Linked DNA regions of Homo sapiens: all the other regions are linked to region 3. The links are contacts of gene promoters, found by promoter capture Hi-C in blood cells and fetal thymus (Javierre and others, 2016). All regions are on one chromosome and are shown on one strand. The core of a region is centred on a gene start or on the middle of the fragment in contact, and the rest is flanking DNA. Distances in the headings are between cores, read along the strand shown. Region 1 holds the start of B9D2 (B9 domain containing 2). Region 2 holds the start of PSMD8 (proteasome 26S subunit, non-ATPase 8). Region 3 holds the start of PAF1 (PAF1 component of Paf1/RNA polymerase II complex). Region 4 holds the start of SPINT2 (serine peptidase inhibitor, Kunitz type 2). Region 5 holds the start of KCNK6 (potassium two pore domain channel subfamily K member 6).

The links. The method cuts DNA at HindIII sites, captures the fragments that hold promoters and counts their contacts. A CHiCAGO score of 5 or more calls a contact.
Region 1: a contact is called between the fragment with the promoter of B9D2 here and the fragment with the promoter of PAF1 in region 3, in 1 of 17 cell types (activated CD4 T cells). The highest score is 5.8, in activated CD4 T cells.
Region 2: the fragment with the promoter of PSMD8 here is called in contact with the fragment with the promoter of PAF1 in region 3 in 4 of 17 cell types (fetal thymus, total CD8 T cells, naive CD4 T cells and 1 more); the score reaches 7.7 in fetal thymus.
Region 4: a contact is called between the fragment with the promoter of SPINT2 here and the fragment with the promoter of PAF1 in region 3, in 1 of 17 cell types (total B cells). The highest score is 6.3, in total B cells.
Region 5: the fragment with the promoter of KCNK6 here is called in contact with the fragment with the promoter of PAF1 in region 3 in 1 of 17 cell types (neutrophils); the score reaches 5.2 in neutrophils.

What each region holds. Positions count from the first base shown.
Region 1 is chr19:41,361,114-41,365,819 of GRCh38, reverse strand. B9D2 (B9 domain containing 2) reads left to right here and starts at 1,671. Exons shown (of 4, transcript NM_030578.4): 1 at 1,671-1,862; 2 at 2,297-2,388. The coding sequence starts at 2,301. It also overlaps a transcript of TMEM91 not described here. RefSeq lists an enhancer at 1,696-1,815. The HindIII fragment of the contact is 18,483 bases long and covers 1-4,706 here.
Region 2 is chr19:38,373,187-38,377,647 of GRCh38, reverse strand. PSMD8 (proteasome 26S subunit, non-ATPase 8) reads right to left here and starts at 3,077. Exons shown (of 7, transcript NM_002812.5): 1 at 2,687-3,077; 2 at 1,416-1,488; 3 at 1,194-1,296. The coding sequence starts at 3,046. RefSeq lists enhancers at 2,768-2,907, 2,538-3,168. The HindIII fragment of the contact is 10,393 bases long and covers 1-3,421 here.
Region 3 is chr19:39,388,549-39,392,953 of GRCh38, reverse strand. It overlaps PAF1 (PAF1 component of Paf1/RNA polymerase II complex), which reads left to right and starts at 1,848. Exons shown (of 14, transcript NM_019088.4): 1 at 1,848-2,136; 2 at 2,665-2,694; 3 at 2,793-2,885; 4 at 3,193-3,314; 5 at 3,408-3,474; 6 at 3,571-3,672; 7 at 3,756-3,861; 8 at 3,939-4,007; 9 at 4,089-4,192; 10 at 4,278-4,394. The coding sequence starts at 2,090. It overlaps MED29 (mediator complex subunit 29), which reads right to left and starts at 1,576. Exons shown (of 4, transcript NM_017592.4): 1 at 1,316-1,576; 2 at 432-490. The coding sequence starts at 1,531. It also overlaps a transcript of SAMD4B not described here. RefSeq lists an enhancer at 1,232-1,521 and a silencer at 3,059-3,190. The HindIII fragment of the contact is 958 bases long and covers 1,512-2,469 here.
Region 4 is chr19:38,262,654-38,266,915 of GRCh38, reverse strand. It overlaps SPINT2 (serine peptidase inhibitor, Kunitz type 2), which reads right to left and starts at 2,343. Exons shown (of 7, transcript NM_021102.4): 1 at 1,918-2,343. The coding sequence starts at 2,023. RefSeq lists a silencer at 2,319-2,638 and enhancers at 2,795-3,712, 3,853-4,262. The HindIII fragment of the contact is 1,481 bases long and covers 1,375-2,855 here.
Region 5 is chr19:38,317,035-38,321,995 of GRCh38, reverse strand. KCNK6 (potassium two pore domain channel subfamily K member 6) reads right to left here and starts at 2,151. Exons shown (of 3, transcript NM_004823.3): 1 at 1,724-2,151. The coding sequence starts at 2,045. It also overlaps a transcript of YIF1B not described here. RefSeq lists a silencer at 1,969-2,058 and an enhancer at 1,700-2,323. The HindIII fragment of the contact is 18,756 bases long and covers 1-2,623 here.

The sequences.
Region 1 (4,706 bases), core at 422-2,921, 2.0 Mb before region 3:
AGAATTGCTTGAACCTGGGAGGCGGAGGTTGTGGTGAGCAGAGATCATGCCACTGCACTCCAGCCTGGGCGACAGAGGGAGACTCTGTCAAAAAAAAAAAAAAAAAAAAAAACCCGGCCGGTCACGGTGGCTAACGCCTGTAATCCCAGCACTTTGGGAGGCTGAGGCGGGTGGACCACCTGAGGTCAGGAGTTTGAGACCGGTCTGGCCAATATGGTGAAAACCCGTCTCTACTAAAAATACAAAAATTAGCTGGGTGTGGTGGTGCACGCCTGTAGTCCCAGCTACTCGGGAGGCTGAGGCAGGAGAATCTCTTGAACCCGGGAGGCAGAGATTGCAGTGAGCTGGGATCGCACCACTGCACTCCAGCCTGGATGACAGGGGGAGACGCCATCTCAAAAAGTAAAAAACCAAAATTATAACGAGGGTACAACATTTCAATAGGATAACATTTATATTAAACAATTCAATGGAATACTTCACTAGTTGATATATGCATTATTAATGGGGTCTCCCTATATTCGAACTTCTGGCCTCAAGAGCTCTTCCCGCCTCAGCCTTCCAAAGGGCTGGGATTACAGTTATGAGCCACCGCGCCTAGCCAATGGTAGCTTGTAAATACTTTGTATCTATTGGCCTGGCTGGGTGGCTCACGCCTGTAATCCCGGCAGTTTGGGAGGGAGAACTGGGAGGATAGCTAGAGCCCAGGAGGTCAAGACAAGACTGGGCAACATAGCAACATAGCAGGACTCCATCTCTTAAAAAAAAAAAAAAGAATTAGCCAGCCGTGGTGGTGCATGTCTGTGATACCAGCTACATGGGAGGCTGAGGTAGGAGGATCCCTTGAACCCAGGAGTTAAGAGGCTGCAATGAGCTGTGATCGAGCCACCGTACTCCAGCCTGGGTGACAGAGTGAGACCCTTTTAAGGAGCCTTGATGGGACCTGATGACTGGCTTGATGTGGGAAATGATGGCATCTAGGATGGCATCCAGGGACAACATCTCCATTTCTTGATTGATAAATCAATCAATAGGAAAGAGGATTTTCTGCAAATAAGGGAATCTTAGTTCCTCATTTCTCTTCGCTACCCCAACCGCTCCTTGCTCAGAATCAAGCAGTAACAGTGAACTTGGTAGTAGCTCCGAGAAGGAAGTTGGACTTATCCAACTTCCTTCCTTCCTTGTCCTTGAGAAACCTAGGGGAACTCTAAAACGGAAGCAGAACCCACTCCCCAACTTCTCCACTCTCTGAATGAGGAGTGATTTTTTTGCTTTGTTTTCCAGTTACAAGGCCGGGGATGTACACGAGGTCCTGGAAGGAATTCCCCCTTGGTCCTGGTTCAATCTCTGATTTGTGATCCCGGACCACAGAGAGCTCTTCGGTGGGGTAGGCGCAGCACGGAGCAGTTAGGGATTTGCTTTTTTGGTAAAGAAGGTATCTGGGAGAAACTGCACTCAAACTTCCTCAGCCACACTCAACATGGCAGCTTCCTAGCCACGCCCAAAATGGCGGAACCCTTTGCCGTAGCTGGAGAGACGCTATTTTCCCAAAATGGAGCGGAGGAGGAAAATGTCCATCACAGCTTCACCCCGCCCCCCGCAGACGGCTAGCACCAATTAGTAGCGCGCAGAGCGAGTACAAAGCTAGGGGAGGAGCCTGCTGTTGCCCCAGCAACAACCACGGAAACCAAGACGAGCGCGGTCGCGGAAGTATCGCGGCTTACATATCTCGCAGCCAGGCGGGTCCTGGGAGAGGCGCGAGCCAGGCCTGGTCGGCGCCCGCGGAGAAAAGAAGCAGTCAAGCCCATGAACTACAACCCCGGTTGCCGCTTTCTCCTCTCCTAACCGTTAAGTGCGCTAAGGTAGGAATGACGCATGCGCTGCGCTTAGAGGCGGGGTTAAGTCGGACCTGAACTCATAACGCATGCGCCTTATGGAGCTTGCTGGGGGAGGGAAGCGGGGTGGCTGGCGTGACGCGGAAGGCGGGTCTTTTGCGCTCGTGGGCGGAGCCATAGCCCCTTCGGGCGGGGCTTTCCGCCGACCTGAACCCGAAAAGGTTATTTTGGACTTCCCAGAGTTAAATGCTGGTTCCCCAGACAAGGGTCCCCCCATTTTTTCCAGGCTTTCATGGGTTGGCAATTAGGATCTGTGGTCAAGACCTCAGCCTCAGGGGTGTGACGAAGCTAGCTTGGAATCCTAGTACTACCCTTTACTTGCTGGGCCTCAGTTTCCCCCCCGTCAAATGGAGATAATACACTTACCTCACAGGGTTGTGATTATATTTTTCCCCTCCCAGGGCCATGGCTGAGGTGCACGTGATCGGGCAGATCATAGGGGCCAGCGGTTTCTCGGAAAGTAGCCTCTTCTGCAAGTGGGGCATTCACACAGGTATTCCCCCAAGCCTGGTTCATTTCCACACCAAGACCCCTAGCCTAGAGGCTACATGCTCCTTCCTCCACCCCTTAACGCAGACTCTTAACCTCATTTCCATCAGTTCTCAGTACTCCAGGCCCAGCCCACACCCTGTCCACATGAGTCTCAAGCTCCCATCTTTGTGTGTGTGAGGGGTGGGATACAGACAGGGTCTCTCTCTGCGCCCGGGCTGGAGTAAGGTGGTGTGATCATAGCTCAGTGCAGCCTCGAACTCTCGGGCTCTAGTGATCCTCCCGCCTCAGCCTCCTGAGAAGCTGGGACTACAGACACGCACCACCAAATCTGGCTAATTTTTTTTATTTTTTGTAGAGACAGGGTCTCGCTATGTTGCCCAGGCTGGTCTCGAACTCCTGCGCTCAAACAGGCCACCCACTTCAGCCTCTCAAAGTGCTAGGATTAAAAACGTGAGCCGCCACGTCCCAGGAAAGTAATTTTGTTCATGCTTCCCCAACTGAGGCCCTATAGAGTCATGGTATAGTGTAATGGTTAGGGTCATGGGCTGCCAGATCTGCATTTAAATATTAACTCCCCCACCTATTAATTGGAGACCTTTGGACTCGACCACTTTGAGCCTCAGTTTCCTTGTTTCAAAGTGAAGCTAATAGTAGCTAAGAAGCAGCACAGGTTTGAGGTTAAGAGCACAGACTGCCTGGGTTCAAAACCAGTTATTGCTTGTTAAGGCACCCTTGGGCTGATTATGTGAACTTGGGCACTTCTCTTCACCTCGACTTCCTTGTTTGTACAATGAGAGTCATAGAAATATTTACCTGTTGAAGTTGTCATGAGTACTAAACGAGTATCAACAGCACTTAGAATAGGAATAGGGCTGGAATAGGAAGTGCTCATTCAGTGTTTGCCTGGCTTATACAAGACTTTGATGGGGTCTTGTTTGTAAAGCCTGGGGTATGTTGTTGCGTGGCACAGATGAATGTCTATGAAACAGATGTGGCCATTTGGCATTATCATGTCTTCAGGCCTGAGTCCTAGTCCCTTTTTTTTTTTTTTTTTTTTTTTTGAGACTCGTTCTGTTTCCCAGGCTGTAGTGCAGTGGTGCAATCTAGCTCAGCCTTCCAGGTTCATGCCATTCTCCTGCCTCAGCCTCCTGCATAGCTGGGACTACAGGCGCTCGCCACCATGCCCGGCTATTTTTTTTTTTTTTGTATTTTTAGTAGAGATGGGGTTTCACTGTGTTAGCCAGGATGGTCTCGATCTCCTGACCTTGTGATCTGCCCATCTCGGCCTCCCAAAGTGCTGGGATTACAGGCGTGAGCCACTGCGCCTGGCCCTTTTTTTTTTTTTTTTTTTTTTGAGACAGAGTCTCACTCTGTAGCCAAGCTAGAGTGCAGTGGCACGATCTCGGCTCACTGCAATCTCTGCCTCCTGGGTTCAAGCGATTCTCCTATGTCAGCCTCCCGAGTGGCTGGGACTACAGGCACCCGCTACCATACCCAGCTAATTTTTGTATTTTTAGTAGAGATGGGGTTTCACCATGTCGGCCAGGCTGGTCTTGAACTCCTGGCCTTAAGTGATCCGCCTGCGTAGGCCTTCCAAAGTGCTGGGATTACAGGCGTGAGCCACTGCGCCTGGCCCTTTTTTTTTTGAGACAGAGTCTCACTCTGTAGCCAAGCTAGAGTGCAGTGGCACGATCTCGGCTCACTGCAATCTCTGCCTCCTGGGTTCAAGCGATTCTCCTATGTCAGCCTCCCGAGTGGCTGGGACTACAGGCACCCGCTACCATACCCAGCTAATTTTTGTATTTTTAGTAGAGATGGGGTTTCACCATGTCGGCCAGGCTGGTCTCGAACTCCTGGCCTTAAGTGATCCGCCTGCGTAGGCCTTCCAAAGTGCTGGGATTACAGGTGTGAGCCACTGCGCCTGGCCCCTGGGTCCTTTTTGATTCTACAGGTAAGTGAGGTGGAAGTTGAAATTCCCAGGAAATCGGAACCCTCCAGCTGATGGATGAGGGGCAGGCTCTGGAGTCAGACTTGGTTTCCAGGTTGGACCACTCACCTTCTCTGTGACCCTGGGCAGAGGCTGTCCCCTCTTGGAGCCTCAGTTTCCTCATTTGTTCTTCATAGGGCTGTTGGGAAATCTTGCTTTTAAGGAGCCTGACGCAGGGCCTGGTGCTTCCCTCAACTCAGCCCAGAAGGGAGTAATGACTAACCTGATTTTTATTATTTCAGGGAGTTGCTGGGGATGTTGATCCAGCCAAGAATACTGAGGCAGTTGGATGAAAGGCTTGGGCTCTGCAGTTAGAGCTGAGTCTGAATCCA
Region 2 (4,461 bases), core at 1,828-4,327, 1.0 Mb after region 3:
GCGCATGCCTGTAATCCCAGCTACTTGGGAGACTGAGGCAGGAGAATAGCTTGAACCCGGGAGGCAGAGGTTGTGGTGAGCCGAGATTGCACCATTGCACTCCAGCCTGGGCAACAAGAGTGAAACTCCGTCTCAAAAAAAAAAAAAGTTATTGGAGTCAGATGCAATGACTCAACACCTGTAATCCCAACACTCTGGGAGCCCAAGGCAGGAGGATCACTTGTGGCCAGGAGTTCGAGACCAGCCTGGGCAACAAAGCGAGACCCCCATCTCTACAAAAAATTAAAATAAAAGAGCCAGGAGTGGTGGTGTGCACCTGTAGCCCTAGCTACTTGAGAGGCTAAGGTAGGAGTACCGCTTGAGCCCAGGAGGTCAAGGCTGTGGTGAGCCATGACTGCACCACTGCACTCCAGCCTGGGCAACACAGCAAGACCCTGTCTCCAAAAATAAATAAATAAAAGAATCACCACTCCCTACTTTAACAGGGAAACTGAGAGAGGTAAAGTCATTTGCCCAAGACCTCATAATCAGGAAGCGGCTGGATGTTTCAAAGCCAGATTTGTCTGATGTCAAATTCCCAATCATTAATCTGTGCAGGTATCATTCAGTTTTATATTCAACACATATCCAGTGAGTCCCTGTTCTGGGCCTGGCCCTGTGGTAGGCAGTGCTAGGGACATAGCAGTAACTGAGACAGTTCCAAGCTCTGCCTTTAGAAAGCTCACAGTCCAGTGAGAGAAAGGGCTGGGATGAGCAGGCACAGGCAGAGGGGTGTGAGCTGGAACTGCATTGGAAGCCACAGGAAAGAACTTGGTCTTGTGCCTGAGGACCATGAAGAGCCACGGCAGGTTCTGAGCGGGGTATGGACAGTGTCAAATTTTAGTGTCACATGATCCTACTGGCTGCCACAGGGGTTTGAGTCAGAGGGGCAAGGCTGGGGCCAGGACACGTGAAAGGTGATGGCAGCCCCACTGGGCAGAGGGGGTGCAATGTGGGAATGGGTAGGGGGAGACTGACTAGTCAAGCCAAGTCTCAGGACCTCCAAGCCAAGCCCTGACCCTGCACCACTGAGGAGAGAACTAAGCCAGGAGGAGTTCCCAGATGAAGGAAGAGGACCCAAGCAGCCAGAGCTCCAGAAATAAAGGAGCTTCCATGCAACCACCCCCCCAGTTGGGGGCAGGGCCCATTCTCACTTGTAATCAAAGTAGTAGCATTTGAGCTGGGCCATGTAGCGCTCGAAGGAGGGGATGTCCTTGCGTAGGATGCTCCATTGGGCCCCGATCTCCAGTATGTCACCTGTGGGTGACAGAGTGAGCTCTCAGGAGGTGACTGAGGTCTCTTCCCCAACCACCAGTGCTACCATTCCTGCCATGACCCCCAGATTATCACCCCCAACCAACCCCAGTGACACTCACGGGCCAGAATTAGCTGCTGTTTGGTCAGCTTGGTCCCTGTGGTTGGCAAGAAGTTGAGCTCCAGAAGAACTAGCTGATGGGGAGGGGAGGGAGGGAAGAAAGAAAAGAAGGGAATTCAAATACAGATGACTTACCTGCTCTACGCTCTGGTCTTCCCACTTGGAAAATGGAGCTAACCATCATCCAGACTCATGAGGAATGCTTTCTCATAAAGCACTCAGAACAGGGCCTGAGCACGCAACACATGCCCATTTAAGATTACATCACATTACAATTATTAATAGCCCCACTGGGGAAACAAGGAGGGACACTCAGTGCCTGACCCAGTGGAATCACGCGGCGGTGGGGACAGGAGTACATTCCATTCTTGGCCCATCTTCCCCACAATCTATTGGGGAAGGGGTAGCTGGGCTATCCCCAAAATCTATATCTGGGAGGGGGAGGTCCAAATCTCCCCCCACAGTTCAGCCCATACATCTTTCCTTAGCAGGCTCAGCAGCTTGTTCCAAGCCACTGGATTTACACTCCCTCCCAACAGATGTTTGGTCTGAAGCACTCTGGGCCCCGTATTCTTGTTCTCTACTTGTAAGAATATTTCTTCTAGGTTCAGTCCTGCCTTCACAACTAGGCTGCCCCCTCTCCCAACAGATGCGAGCCTAAGCCCCAGATCTCTCAGATCCTAACCCAGCCTGGTCTTAACCACACACCCTCTACACAGCCCACCTTTTCAGCCTCATTCTTTTATCACTCCGGGCAGTCCTCACTTCCCACTTGGTCTTGCCTGGAATCCACCATCAGGAAAAGCCCGAATCCCAATCCTGCCACTCCGACCAGTTAAGCCTCCACGCACCAAAAATCTAACCCCTCACTCAGTTCTGCCATAAGTCTTCCAATCATTCCCCCACCACCCCCGCGTGGGTCCATTCCAGTCATCTCTCACTTAAAAAAAAAATGTAGAGACAGAGTCTCGCTATGTTGCTCAGGCTGATCTTGAACTCCTGGGCTCAAGCGACGCTCCCCCGCCTCGGCCTCCCAAAGCGCTGCGATTACAGGCGTGACCATCAACGCTCCCTGTCCCTCTCTCGCTTCTTGACGCCCTCCGAGCCCCCACTTTGGCTGTTCCAAATCTTTCACCCCATCGGATCCCCCAGCCCGCCTCAGTCTCGCTGGCACCGAGGTGGCTTCCGCGGCCCGGGACTTGGTTGGGTCCAGACACCTCGTAGCGCCTCCCACGCCCGCAACACTCGGTTTCCTGGGCCTGCCGACTTTACCTTGAGTCGACCCAGCTCTTCCCCGCACTTGCTAAGATTGGGGCTTTTACGGTTCCACTCGCCCTTGAGTTGCTCGTACATGCCGGTCGCGGCCTGCAGAACAGCGCCCGAGGTTGCCGCGGGCCCGGAGCTCGAGAAGCCTGCCGCCCCGTTCACCGCCGCGGCCGCCATCTTGCGTGATGCGGCAAGCAGACCGCCTGATTTACGGCAGCGCCGCCTACAAACGCTTGCCCGGCGGAAGTGGGGCCGAGAGGTGGAGCCCAAGGCCCGGGGCGGGGCTACAACCTGCCTCAGCCCGCCCCGGGTAGCCCGCCGTCGCTCTCGAGGTGGCGCCCTCGGAGCCCTGCCCTTAATGAACATGTCAGTTGGAGCTCCGCCTCTGTCGTCACTCAAGATGGTGACCGGAAGTTGGCTTTTGCCCTAACTGAAAATGACAGCTGTCTCAACACCACCCCCCCTACCCACCTCACGGTTCCAATAATGAACATGGCTGCCCTGGCTTCAGTCTGAGTGCTCGGGACGCTACGTAGCTGTCCTGGAGGTTCCGCCTTCGGGGCAGCGTCTCCAAGCCAAAAGGTAGCGGGTGTCGTGCCATTTGGAGAGCTGTGTTATTCTCATTTTATAGACAGACTGAGAGGCTGGGTAACCTTCCAAAGGACTAACAGCTAGGATGTGTACCTGGGGCTCCCTCTCCAGTCTTTTTCAATGCATCCTTCCACATTTTTTTCCCAAGCTTATATGAACTAACTAGTTACAAAACTCATCCAGCTCTATGGCTTTCAATGTCATGTGTAAGTGGAGGATTCACAATTTTTTTTTTTTGAGACGGAGTTTAGCTCTTGTTGTCCAGGCTGGAGTGCAATGGAGCAATCTTGGCTCACTGCATCCTCCGCCTCCTGGGTACAAGTGATTCTTCTGCCCCAGCTTCCCAAGTAGCTGGGATTACAAGCATGTGCCACCACGCCTGGCTAATTTTCGTATTTTTAGTAGAGACGTAATTTTAGTATTTTTAGTAGATGTTGGTCAGGCTGGTCTCCAACTCCTGAACTCAGGCGATTCCCTGGGCCCTGGCCTCCCGAAATGCTGGGATTACAGGCATGAGCCACCTTGCCTGGCCAGTATTCACAACTTCTTATACCAACTTCTTCCTCCACTGATTGATATTACATCTGCACATTCAACATCGCTTTTTCTCTCTTTTTAAAAAAAATTAAATTTTTTATAGAGACAGAGTCTCATTATACTGCCCAGGCTGGTCTCGAACTCCTGAGCTCAAGCGATATTCCTGCCTTGACCTCGCAAAGTGTTGGGATTAGAGGTGTGAGCCACTGCGCCTGGGCAGCACGTTTTTCTCAAACCCGACTTTCACTCTCCGTCTCCACCATTTAGAATGTCATCTCCATGAAGGCAGGACGATTTCCTTCACTACTGAATTCCCAGTATCTCAGTGCTTGGCAAATATTAGTAGACAGTCAATAAATATTTGTTGGCCAGGCATGGTGGCTCATGCCTGTAATCCCAGCACTTTGGGAAGCCGAGGCAGATAGATCACTTGAGGTCAGGAGTTCGAGACCAACCTGGCCAACATGGCGAAACCCCATCTGTACTGCAAATACCAAAAAAAAAAAACAAAAAAACCAGCTGTGCGTGGTGGCACACACCTGTAATCCCAGATACTCAGGAGCCCGAGGCAGGAGAATCGCTTAAACCCAGGAGGTCAGCTTGTAGTGAGCTGAGATTGTGCCGCTGCACTCCAGCCTGGGTGACAGAGTGAG
Region 3 (4,405 bases), core at 599-3,098:
ACGTGGCAAGACCCTGTCTCTACAAAACAACAACAAAAATAAAATAAAATAGGAGAAGTGATTCGTGAGGCTGAGGGGATGGCTAGAGGCCAGGAGTTTGAGACCAGCCTGGGAAACATAGCAAGACTCCGTCTCTATAAAAAAATCTTACAAATTAGCCAGGCATCTGTAGTCTGTAGCCATGTCTGTAGTCCTGGCTACTTGGGAGGCTGAGGCAAGAGGATCTCCTAACTCAGGTGTTCAAGGCTGCAATGAGCCAAGATCGTGCCACTGTAGTCCAGCCTGGGTGACAGAGGGAGACCCTGTCTCAAAAAAAAAAAAAAAAAAAAGTAAATATAGAAGGTGAGGTGGGCGGGGAGCAGGAGAAGGAAAGATGAATTTCAAAGACTGGGAAGGCAATAGAATATCCTGGTAAAGGGGGCTGCACTCACTGTCCATTGTCGATGTTAGTGTTCTGAATCAAGTTTTGGGCCGCAACCTTCATCAAGGTCTAGTCAAAACAAAAACAAAACACGTGGGAAATGGAAAAACAAAAGGGAATACCTCTGGCAGATCTACACTCTTTCTTGAGATCACTCAGTCTCAGGTTTTCTTTTCAACTGGCACCTTCCCTCCTGACTTTCCAAAGTAATATTCGTTTCCATTCCTATAGCTGTCACCACTCCATCCTCCCAGAGGCCCGCTCTCACCTGAGCTTCTCGCCAATAACCTAAGGGTCCTCCCTCACCTATCAATCAAGGGCAGAATCTCCGTATAAGCCAGTACTCTCCTCAGGCTTTAACGACCAGAGCCCAGTTTCTCCTTTAAACAACCCCTCACTCAAGCTCCGGCCAGTCCCAGCCTCAGCATCAGCGCTGATCCCATCTCTGCCGAGCTTCGCTTAGGTCTCGCAGAAAACAACAGTTTTATTTATTTATTTATTTATTTTTTTGACGGAGTCTCGCTCTGTTGCCCAGGCTGGAGTGCAATGGCACGATGTCGGCTCACTGCAACCTCCGCCTCCTGGGTTCAAGCGATTCTCCTGCCTCAGCTTCCCGAGTAGCTGTAATTACAGGCGCGCGCCACCATGCCCGGCTAATTTTTGTATTTTTAGTAGAGACGAGGTTTCACCAGGCTGGTCTTGAACTCCTGACCTCAAGTGATCCGCCCGCCTCGGCCTCCCAAAGTGCTGGGAACACAGGCGTGCACCAGCCAGGCCAAAACAGCAGGTTCTATTCCTCTTTCTGCTTAGCGCTCTCTCCGACTAACCTGGCCCTCGGCCTGCCCCTCTAGACTACCAAATCCAGTTTGCTTCTCGCTGCTTAAGGCCAATCACCTGTAGACTCTCCTTCAGCTGCGGGATGAGCATCTTATAACGCTGCACAGGATCGAAGTCCTGTTGCTGTTGCTGCAGGAGGCCGCTCTGGGCAGGGCCCACCAGTTGTGCTGGCGGTTGCGGCTGCTGCTGGGGACCCGGGCCGCCAGCCGAACTAGGACCCGATACACCAGCAGCTGAGGAAGCCGCTGAAGCTTGCTGCTGGGATGCAGCCATCTTCCTCGCGTAGACCGCCGGAAGTGCGTTACGACTGCGTCTCTCCCCGTTGCTTTTCAGCATCCCTATTTCTAGTCCCCGTTTGCTAGTTAGTCCCGCCCCCTAGGCAATTAAGCCAATGGAGGGGAAGGAGGTGCCCCAACGTTACGTCACTCTCAAATCTGCGTCCAGACTGAGATATCTCTCCACCAATCACAGAAGCACCTCTCTCCCTCGCTCCGCCCTTCACCCAGACGCTCGCCAATCCGTGTGTGGTTCCGAGCCGGACTTCATTTCCCCGAAGGCGTCGCGGCCTGAGGAGACCCGTTGGGTCCTCAGCGTCTTGGCGGCAGTTGGTGGAACCGGAGCTTCGAGTCCGTCCCCGGTGCTGCCTGCGCGTTCACCTGAGTCTCGCTGGAGCTCTTCTCGCCCGCCCACCTCATCTCAACCCACTTTCCGCGGGGAGCGGCGCCAAGCTGGGCCTTCCTCGGATCAGGCGTCCCCTGAAGTCGGCACGCCCCTCTGCGTCCCCCTTCGGTCCCGCTAGGACCCCGTCCGGGCTGCCGTCGCCTCGTCGCTATGGCGCCCACCATCCAGACCCAGGCCCAGCGGGAGGATGGCCACAGGTAGGCGCCACGCTTTTCTGTTGCAGCAAGGCGGGGGATCGGGAGAGGGTTTCTGCTGAACAACGTCACCAGCCCCCAGGTCTGCCCGTGACGTCATGAAGCGCTCACCTTTGACGAAGGGGGCGGGTTCCTTCTGAGATTCAGGTGTTCCCCTCCTCCCCGCCGTGCAGTTCAGGGATTAGGCTTTTGGAGACTCCCTCCAGAAGGGATCCCTCCAGTCAACCGTTTGGAGACCCCTCTTCCGAAGACGATTGAGTACATGGTTCTTTATTAAAGCACTTGAAGCCATCTCCTGCAAAAGGGATTGAGCACTTGGCCTTGTTCATTAAAGCTTTTGGGGGCATTTCTTCCTAAATAAATTGAACATTTGTCTCCTTCCATTAAAGCATTTGGACACTCCCCACACCACCACCCAAAGAAACCAGCATTTGTCACCCCTCCTACCTTTTGAAAGGTTGGGGAAGCCTTTTTCATTCTCCTGTCAATCCCGTCCTCTCCACCTATCACTGTTTCTTTCTTCTCCACTAGGCCCAATTCCCACCGGACTCTGCCTGAGAGGTGAGCCCCACTGTGCTTTCCCAGGAGCGGTGGGGCAGTGGGGCTGGGAGCAGAGGTGGGGCAGCGGGGGCCCACTTTTGAGCCACTAATGTTCCTAGGTCTGGAGTGGTCTGCCGAGTCAAGTACTGCAATAGCCTCCCTGATATCCCCTTCGACCCCAAGTTCATCACCTACCCCTTCGACCAGAACAGGTGAGACTAAGGAATGGGAAAACTACTCAGGTATGAGTTCCTTGAAGGCAGGGACTGCTTGTCTCGTTGGCTGCTGTCTGCTCAGGGCCTAGCACAGTACCTACCCTAGCACATAGTAGTAGCTGCTCAATTGTTAATGGAGCAAGCAGTGTCCAAGTCCCTTCCCACTGGGGAGCCAGCTTTCAGACTCTGCCATGGGGGACACTTCATTCTGAGTTCCTCCCCAGAGAAGCTCCGCCTCTGGGAAGCAGGGCTGTGAGGGGTGAAGCTGGAATCCAAACACCACAATAGGTGTTTCCCCACCCAGGTTCGTCCAGTACAAAGCCACTTCCTTGGAGAAACAGCACAAACATGACCTCCTGACTGAGCCAGACCTGGGGGTCACCATCGATCTCATCAATCCTGACACCTACCGCATCGACCCCAATGGTGTGTGGGGAGACAGGGAGGGTCTGCTCTAGGTCAGCAAAGGCTCAGGCCTGGGCCTCCCTCATGGTCCTCCTGCCCCCCGCTCTCCTCTAGTTCTTCTAGATCCAGCTGATGAGAAACTTTTGGAAGAGGAGATTCAGGCCCCCACCAGCTCCAAGAGGTGAGTGGGTAGCAAATGGGTACTGGAGACTGGCTCAGGTGGGCCCTACAAGCAGGAGGGCAGTGGGGTCCTGAGATACCTGATTTCCCACCCCAGATCCCAGCAGCACGCGAAGGTGGTGCCATGGATGCGAAAGACAGAGTACATCTCCACTGAGTTCAACCGTTATGGCATCTCCAATGAGAAGCCTGAGGTCAAGTAAGTTACTAACAGGAAGAGAGGGAAGGTGGAGATATTAGGTGTGTCCAGTGGCCCCTAAGGACCTTTTTCTTCATTCCTAGGATTGGGGTTTCTGTGAAGCAGCAGTTTACCGAGGAAGAAATATACAAAGACAGGGATAGCCAGATCACAGCCATTGAGAAGACTTTTGAGGATGCCCAGAAATCAGTAATTGAGGGACTGGGATGGGGAGAGGCAAGGGTGCGGCTGCAGAGCTCCTCCTCACCTTGTTTTTGTTCCACCAGATCTCACAGCATTACAGCAAACCCCGAGTCACACCGGTGGAGGTCATGCCTGTCTTCCCAGACTTTAAGGTCAGGCCCAAGGTGGGAGGTAGAAAGGGACAGCCTATTTGTGCCTGTTCCCATCTAACCCCAGTGCCTCCATCTCCCTAGATGTGGATCAATCCATGTGCTCAGGTGATCTTTGACTCAGACCCAGCCCCCAAGGACACGAGTGGTGCAGCTGCGTTGGAGATGATGTCTCAGGCCATGATTAGGTAGGTGGTCCTGCTGTCCACCTTGGCCTGCTCCTTGCTGCCTCTTGTCCTCACACTTCATTGCTACTCCTTTTCCCCCAACCAGGGGCATGATGGATGAGGAAGGGAACCAGTTTGTGGCCTATTTCCTGCCTGTAGAAGAGACGTTGAAGAAACGAAAGCGGGACCAGGAGGAGGAGATGGACTATGCACCAGATGATGTGTGCGTGGGTT
Region 4 (4,262 bases), core at 1,094-3,593, 1.1 Mb after region 3:
GGAGGTACATCCTAACGTAATTACTTAAACTGAAAAAGTCCAGCAGAGCTGCCAAATTCTGGTTCGAATTGCAAGAATGATCAACGTCTGCATTCCTGACTCCCAGTCACCTACAGCTGAGCCTCTCCCCACCAATTCACTTTTTTCTCCTGCCTAGGGCACAGAGAAATTAACCAGTCCCCAGAAGTTACCACAGGTGATGACTTGGTACACACCTAGCCTGCTCTTTTTTTTTTTTTTGAGACTGAGTCTTGCTGTGTCGCCCAGGCTGCTGTGCAGTGGCTTGATCTCAGCTCACTACAGCCTCCGCCTCTGGGCTTCAAGCGATTCTCCTGCCTCAGCCTCCCGAGTAGCCGGGACTACAGGTGTGCACCACCATGCCCAGCTAATTTTTGTATTTTTGGTAGAGACGGGGTTTCATCATGTTGCCTAGGGTGGTGTTGAACTCCTGGCCTCCAGTGATCTGCCCGCCTTGGCCTCCCAAAGTTCTAGGATTACAGGCATGAGCCACATCACCCGGCCTTCTTTTTTTTTTTTTGAGATGGGAGTTTCACTCTTGTTGCCCAAGCTGGAATGCAGTGGCGCGATCTTGGCTCACTGCAACATCCGCCTCCCGGGTTCAAGCACCAGCACCTGTCTATAAAGCCCTAGGCCATCTGGCTGCAGCCAACCTCTCCCACCTCCCATCCTCCTCCAGTCCTCCCCTCCTTCACGCCTGCTCCAGCCAGGCTGGCTCTGTCTTTTCCCTGAACCCAACCAAGCTTGTTCCAGCTTCAAGGCCTTTGTACTCTATTGCCTGCAACTGGACACTGGTCCCCCAGGTCTCCGTGTGGCTACTGCCTCATTCTTCATGTTAGAGCTCAGATGTCACCCTCCTCACGGAGACGTCCCCCGACCACCTGAGCTAAAGCCGCCCCCAACATCTTACGTCACCCTGTTGGTGTACTTCACCTGGTTCATTTAATTCTCAGTAACTTAATCTCATGGCAAGTGCTTTTTAAACCTTCACTAGCTCTGCCTCTCCCACTGGAATATTAGCTCTGTGAATGCAGGAACCCAGCTAGTCTGAGTTAACTGTTATAACCAGCGCCAGTGCCTGACACGTAGCAGGGCCTCAGTAAGTTTTGCTGAATCAATGAATTCTTGCTTTCAAGAGAGCTCTTTTCAAAACACGCTGGTGCTTGTCTGAAGCAGTTAAGGTTATAACAACACTTGTTCAAAGAGACCTTTCAGACCACACTTCCTTAAGAGTGTAGAAGTTTAAATCACCTTATTCACCACCGACTTCTAAGGGCCAATCCAAAGACCCCAACACCAGCTGCTCAACGCCAATACTCTCTCGAGCCTTAGCAGAGCTTCCTCTTCCCCAAAGCTTGTTTCCTTTCTTGCTCCCTCCTTCTCGGGCACCTACTTTACTGCAACTCAACTACAAAAACTTCAGGGGAGGCTCTTGTCCAATCTCCAAAGAGGCAGGGGTGAGATGGGCTTCTTCCGAGTCTAAAACGGCCACCAGGTCACCCAACCCAACCCCCACCATCTCACAGGCCTGGCCTCTCCCTGAGCTTTGGCCATGGAACTTTCCACCGCCAGGAGAAGGCTGGTCTTCAATTCGGCTCCTCACCCCGTTCTTGCCACAGGAAGGGGCAGTGCCACGCCTTCTTGGTCAATACCCCTTGACTCTTCCTCCACCCGAAGGAAACTCTCCTAACCCTCGCTCCTCCGCCCGTCTTCGCTGTCGAAGGCTCCCAAACCTCATTTCAAGGCTCAATCCTCCAGGGCTGGTTCCACCACACCCGCTGAACGCCATCAAGTAGCCCCCAGTTTCCTCCCCCGCCAGTTCTCCCTGCTCAGACCCCCGTTGACCCCCGAGCCTCTGCCCCCTGCGCCCCGCCTCCAGCCTACCCGCCCGGCCCTCACCGTGGATGCTGCGTTCTCGGTCGGCCGCCAGGACCCCAGAGAGGAGCAGCGATCCCAGCAGGGCGAGAAACGCCCGGCTCCGCCTCAGCCCGCACAGCTGCGCCATGGCCAGCTCAGCCGAGACGCGCAGGCGACGCCACCAGCCGTTGGGGTCTCGCGATCAGGTGCGGGAAGCCCCTCAACGCGCACGCGCAATGGAGCGCCTCGCGTTCAGGTGCCGACGCTCCGGGAGGGTCCGCCAGGTGCCAAAGCCCCCGGAAGTCGCCTTTCCGGACCTTCAGTGTGGGGACGCCCGGCCTTCTCGGCGCGCGATGCCTGGGTCTGCTCCTCACTCGCGCCCTCGCCGCCTGCGACACTCAACGGCCCTCAGCGCGTTCAGAGCCGCGCTACACCTCCCAACGCGCGGAGGTCGCCAGAGCCAATGGCGAACGCCTATTGGAAGCGGCTCCCGAAGGTGGCCGGGCAGGCAGGGGGCGGGGCGCACCTGGCTAGGCAGGGCGAGCTGGGCGCAGGCGCAAAGGGCAGGCACCTGCGCGGCCGCTCCCCGGCCCTGGGCGCACCTGGGCCCGCCCCTGGTGCCGGGGAAGAGGCGGGGCTTGCGCGGGCCTCGCCCCCAACAGAACCTGGCGGGGCGGGGCGGGGCGTCTGCCCGCTGAGCACCTGCCACCCTTCCCTTGGGCTTGGTGACGACGTCGGAGGAGGGCCTTCGCTCTAGGACTGGCCTCAGGGTGGGAGGAGGGGGCGGCAGACACGCGTTTCTTGGAAGCCTGTGGTTTTCTGCCCGCCTCGCCGCAGCTTTCCTGTGAATTCCTTCCTGAATTTCAAAGTTCACTGGGCTCATGCTCCAGGGCTTAATGCTGGGGACCCAGCGGTGGCCATGCCAGACTGGTCCCTGAGTCACCAAACAGGAACGGCCCAGAGTAGTGATAGCGGAAGCTTAGCACAAAGTGATGAAAGCTGTGATGGGGAAGGCCAAGCTTAGGGATCAGAGGCTGGGTCGCTAGAAAACCAGGGCATGATGGGAGCCCAGACAGCTTTCCCATCCAGCCTGAGAGAGGGCCAAGGAGGGCTTCCTGGAGGAGGTGATAGGCCCATGCAAAAACAGCCCCGAGCCCTGGCTCCAAGGTTCTCAGGACAGATATGGAGACAAATACTTAGCACAGGCAGCATCAGAATTGAGAGGAAGGAAGCCCCTGGGGAAACCCAGAGAAGACACCTGACCAAGCCTGGGAGTCAAAGAGGGCTTCCTGGAAGAGGAGTTACGTGAACAGACTCTAGAAAGGGGAATGGAGTGGGGCAGGCACACGAGTAGAGGATAGCCAACAAGGTAATCAACATAAATGCATTATTATTGAAAACACTTTTAGATTATTTCTTTTTTTTTTTTTTTTTGAGATGGAAGTTTTGCTCTTGTTGCCCAGGCTGGAGTGCAATGGAGTGATCTTGGCTCACTGCAGCCTTGACCTCCTGGGCTCAAGGGATCCTCCCACCTCAGCCTCCCAAGTAGCTGGGACTACAGATGTGAGCCACCACATCCAGCTAATTTTTAAATTTTTTGTGGAGACAGGGGACTTGCTATGTTGCCCAGGCTGGTCTCAAACTCCTGGCTTCAAGGGATCCTCCTGTCTCATCCTTCCAAAAGTGTTGTATTACAGGCGTGAACCACCACACCTGGCCTGAAAACACTTTGACAGTGCTATACAGAAAAGGAATCAGGGGCTGGGATGGAAAATAACAAGAGATCTTTTGAATGGGGTGGCGGAGGAAGGGCTTTGTGAGGGGTGGCTTTGATAATGAACTCTGAAGGATGATAAAGGCCAAGGGACAAACATTCCAAGAATCAGGAATGGCACATGCGGAGGCCTTCAGGCAGGAAAGAGAATAGTGTGTTCAGGAGCCAGGGCCACTCCCACTCTTCAGCCTCCCTCCTAGCATAATAATACATGAAAAGCCGTAACTGAGTTATCAAAATGGTATTTACCTTAAACAATGGAAGTCTAACCTTGCAATGAGATCATGGGACTCAAGGTGGAATCTGAATGTGAGGCCAAAGGTCTCCCCCAGCACTTGAATCTCCCACTGCCACTCAGGCCTACTAAACCTAGGCTTGAGCATGAAAACAGAGAAGTATGTGCTGAGCCGTCAAGGCTTGGAAGAAGGTATAGGCCTCTTCTTTCTTTATTTTATTTTATTTTGAGACAGAGTTTCACCTGTTGCCCAGGCTGGAGTGCAATGCTGTGATCTCAGCTCACTGCAACCTCCACCTCCTGGATTCAAGCAATTCTCCTGCCTCAGCCTCCTGAGTAGCTGGGATTACAGGCACCACCCGCCACCACGCCCAGCTA
Region 5 (4,961 bases), core at 902-3,401, 1.1 Mb after region 3:
GAAATGGGGAGTGTTATTATCTCCATTTTAGCAATGGGGGAGGACACTGAGGCCTGGCAATGAGCCGCGGCTGAGCAGGGATGTAGCCAGGCTGTGCCTGACGTGTGTCTGGCTTCCCTCATCTGCCCTGCCAGGGATGACTTCTTAGAAGCCAGGATCTGGGAAGAGGTAGGAGGCGTGCACATGACCCAGGGAAGCTCAGAAGCAGGTCAGGCCGCCCTGGCAGCATGGGCAGACCCAGGGGAGGTCAGCTAACGAGAAGTCACCCAGCTCTGCTGCCAGGGGACCAAAAGCAAAAGCTGCCCCCTATTGTTGGCCGGGAGGGCGAGTTAGGAGTCTGGGCTAACCCTGCACCAGCCTCCTCTCCTCAACAAATCCCCAACAAAGAAACAAAGAGGAAGTCTGGGAGCTGAGAAGGGGCTGGGGGAGCAGCAGAGCCTGGCAACAAAGAGATTTCCCAAGTCTGGCTTCTCAGGGTTTCCCAAAACTCGGGGTCCCTCCACGGTGGGTCCTTTTGACACATCCCTAGCTGGGGCTGCTGAATTGGGAGTCCCAGGTCCAGAGGGAACAGGTGGTGTCCCTATTGGGAGGAAAATCCTGCATTGAGAGTGACCCCATATAGGGGAGATGTCAAGATGGGGTGGGGTACCTAGGGAAGGGTTTTGTGTCTGGGGTCAGAGTTGCCTGCTGGGGAGTATGGGGCCAGGAGACAGATGACAGTCTGGAGCAGAGGCCCAGGTCCAGAGGGCCAGGAGTCCCAGATGGCGGTGCCAGGTCCTTGCTGAGGAATCTCTGTTGGGAGGGAGGTCTTTAGTGAGGACACCCTGAGAGGTCTGGAGATTTAGGGTCCTCGCTAAGGCGCCAGGGTCAGGAGGAGGTTGAGATGGGGTTTCTCCAGGGGGGTTTCCCAGAAGGACATATCTGGAGGGTCAGGAGACATGGCAAGGGTGGCAGGCCCAGACTAGAGATAAAGTCAGGGGTCCTGGCATGGTTGAGTTCTGGGTCCAGAGGGGGCAAGGATCTCCCTTGGAGGGTGGCGTGTCCTGGGTCCTTGCTGGAGGTCTCTGAGGACAGTCCTAGGCTTAGAGGGGGCTGGACAGACCCGGGTCACCAAGAGGATTAAGACCGGGGAATGCAGTCCCAGTGCAGTGGCTCAAGCCTGTAATGCCAGCAATTTGGGAGGGCGAGGCGGGCTGATCACCTGAAGTCAGGAGTTTGGGACCAGCCTGGCCAACATGGTGAAACTCCGTCTCCACTGAAAATACAAAAATTAGCCAGGCATGGTGGTATGTGCCTGTAATCCCAGCTACTCGGCAGGCTGAAGCAGGAGAATAGCTTGAAACCGGGAGGCGGAGGCTGCCGTGATCCGAGATCGTGCCACTGCACTCCAGCCTGGGCGACAGAGTAAGCCCTGTCTCAAAAAAAGAAAAAGAAAAGAAAAAAAAAAAAGACCGAGGAACGGGGTCCCAGCTGGTCTCTGCAAAGGTACTCTGAGGGGAGCTGGGTGTTTCCTACTTAGGAGGAAGGGCTCGGACTTGGGCTCCCCGAGCAGAGCAGATATCATGAGCCTGGGTCCCGGGTCCTCACTGGGGTCTTTTCGGGGGATCCGAAGCCCAGAGGGGATTGGGATAAGGGTATTCGTGAGGGCCCCGGGGTCCCCAGGGGTTAAGGATGAAGTGGGGATCCCGGGTCCTCGCCGCCTTGCGGTGAGGCGCTTACGTACCCACGGTGGTGATCAGCGTGCTGGCGAAGAAGAGAGCAGAGGCGAAGTCCCAGGCGGGGTCCGAGGCGTTGGCGGACCCCGAAGCGTTAGCAAGCACGACCCGCCCCAGCCGTCCGGCCGCCAGCACTCGCTCCACGAAGGCGTCCAGGGCGGGGGCAGCCACACACGGGCTGCGCTGAAGCAGCTGCGCCCGCAGCGTCTCCAGCTCGGCTCGGAGCCTGGCTTCGTGCGGCCCCTCCAGCCGCGCCACCAACAGCGCGCCCAGCACCAGGTACGCGGCGTACGCGGCCAAGGCGCCCGCCAGAAGCGCGCCCCTCCGCATGGCACCCACCGGGACCCCGCGAGCCCTGGGTGGCCCCGCTGACGTGGCCCCCGCCTCCGGACCGTCTGGCACCTAGTTCCAGTTCCGGGAGTGCTACAGGCGCGGCAGCAGATGCCCCAAGAGGAAGAGGAAAAAGGGGAGGTGGGGGGCGGCGACGGAGGAATGCCCCGCCTCCGGGAAACTGAGGCACGCCCAACCGCCAGGTGTTCGTTCGGAGAGGGTGGAGCCCAGTGCTCCCAGACCCAGCAGACCAACGGGATGGAAAGGGTGGAGGTAGTCCTCTCTTCCCCTCATTCCTTCCTTCTCGTCCTCCTGGAAGGCTGGTTCTCTATGTTAGAAGAATCTGAACTTTCCTCTCTGCTCGCAGGCCGAGGAGTCGCCCCCCATCGCGCACAGCAGCTAAGGTTGTGCACTGCATCAGGGCGCGCGGCTGACGGAGCAAGGGGCAAACTGAAATCCAATTCTCGCTCCATTCGCCAAGTTGTGAGCCTCGGAGTGGGAACAGCGGACACCACAGAGTCAGGTGTCCCCTGTGCCCGTGTGGACAGAGTGGGGATCCTCAGCTACTCACCAAAGCTTTGTTCAATGCCCACTTTCTGCTGACCCCTCGCTGGATGATCCTGGAGACTCAGTAATGATGAGACCATCCTGCGCCATGCATTCATGGGGCTCCCAGTCTAACTGGGAGACTGACACAAGAGTGACCCACGCCTGTTGTCCCAGCTACTCGGGAGGCTGAGGTCGGAGGATTGCTTGAGCCCAGGAGTTCGAGGCTGCAGTGAGCTATGCCTGGGAGAGAGTGAGACCCTATCTCTAAAAAAAAGAAAAAAGACAGCCCAGAGTGGTCAGGGCTGTGATGAGGGAAGCAAGGGTACAATGATCAAGCCTGGAATCAGGGAGCCCTAGAGGGCCCTGGGAGTCCAGAGGAAGCAACCACCCCTGCCTAGGGAGGTCAAGAGAGCTTCCTGAGGAAGGGGCTAGCTGAGCTGAAGCATGAAGGATGAATGGAAACAAGCCAGGCAGAATCACAAATACACGCCTCTATTTAAGAGGAAATTTTTCTTTCTGCGCCCCCCCGTAAGTCTCTCCACTTCTGCCTCCAGCCAGAACTCAGCGCCTTCCTGACAGCCTTTTGGAGGGCAGCCCAGAGTCCTAACCCCATCCGACTGGCAGAGGAGTGGGGCTTGGGGCTCAGCTCAGACATGTCCCAGCTGGTTCTATTAAAGAGCTGGCAGATCACCGGGCAGAGCCCAACTTGGGGTTGACAATCCAGAAGCAGAGGCACCTGATAATAGAATCAGTAACACAATAGGTGCCAGTGATCGAAGGCTTACATTCTGCCAGGCCCTGTGGACACCTGAACTTGCACTGAATTCTCAACCCCGTCCCAATATAATTCCCACTAAACAGATGAGAAAATTTAGGCTTAAAAATGAAGTAGTCATTTGAGACCAGCTCGGGCAACATGGCAAAACCCCATCTCGACAAAAAATACAAAAATTAGCCAAGTGTGGTGGCATGCGTCTGTAGTCCCAGCTACTCGGGAGGCTGAGGCAGGAGGATCGTTTGAGCTCAGGAATTAGAGACTGCAATGAGTTATGGTCGCACCACTGCACTCCAGTATGGGTGATAGAGTAGACCCTGCCTCAAAAAAATAAAAAGTAGTAGTCACACAACTGGTAAGGGGTGAACATGAGGCCAGCAGGAAGCCAATGAACTAATGAACTTGCTTTTTTTTTTTTTTTTTTTTTTTTTTTGAGACAAGAGTCTCGCTCTGTCTCCCAGGCTGGAGTGCAATGGCACAATCTCGGCTCGCTGCAACCTCTGCCTCCTGGGTTCAAGCAATTCTCCTGCCTCAGCCTCCTAAGTAGCTGGAATTATAGATGCCCGCCACAACACCCAGCTAATTTTTGTATTTTAAGTAGAGACAGGGTTTCGCCATGTTGGCAAGGATGGTCTCAAACTGACCTCAGGTGATCTGCCCGCCTTGGCCTCCCAAAGTGCTGGGATTACAGGCGTGATCCGCTGCACTTGGCAGTACTTGCTTTATTAATTAAATATATATACATAAGGCTGGGTGCGGTGTTTCATGCCTGTAATCTCAGTGCTTTGGGAGGCCAAGGCAGGTGGATCACCTGAGGTCAGGAGTTCGAGACCAGCCTGGCCAACATGGCGAAACCCTGTCTCTACTAAAAATACAAAAAATTAGCCAGGTGCGATGGCACACGCCTGTAATCTCAGCTATCGGGAGGCTGAAGCAGGAGAATCACTTGAACCCAGGAGGCAAAGGTTGCAGTGAGCCGAGATCGCATCACTGCACTCCAGCCTGGGCGACAGAGCAAGACTCCATCTCAAAAAACAAACAAAAAAGCAATAAGAAAAAAAAAAACATTTATGGAAGAGATGTATCTGGAGCAACCAGAGCAAGAGAGGGCTGAGGATGAGGAGAAAATGGTGTTGGAGCCCAGGGGACAGAGGCTAAATCAGAGGTGAAGAAGAATGCGGGCATTTCGCTCACAAAAAGGAACCACAGTGGAGCCAGCACTCATCACTGAGAAACCAGGAGCAGCCCTTAAGGTCTCCAAAAAGACAACGTCTCAGAGGAGGAAGAGGAAGCCACAGCGATAGGGTCACTTGCTGACATCCTTCCGGATGCGCTATCGCTGCGCAGAAGTAACTTCCACCACTATGTTTTCCTGAGATAAGTCGGGGAGTCTGAGAGGGAGAGAAGGGGGGAGACTGAGAGTCAGAGAGAGGAGAGACTAAGGACGCTAGGTGGGCAGGGCTCTTCACTTGCAGGTGCGCCTGTGTGCTGTGAGTTGCTGGGGGTTGTAGAATGCTTTTGGTGGACAGAGGGAACCAGGTTGCAATGTGAGAACATTTTTATGAATTTCTGGGAAACTGCCTTAAGATCTA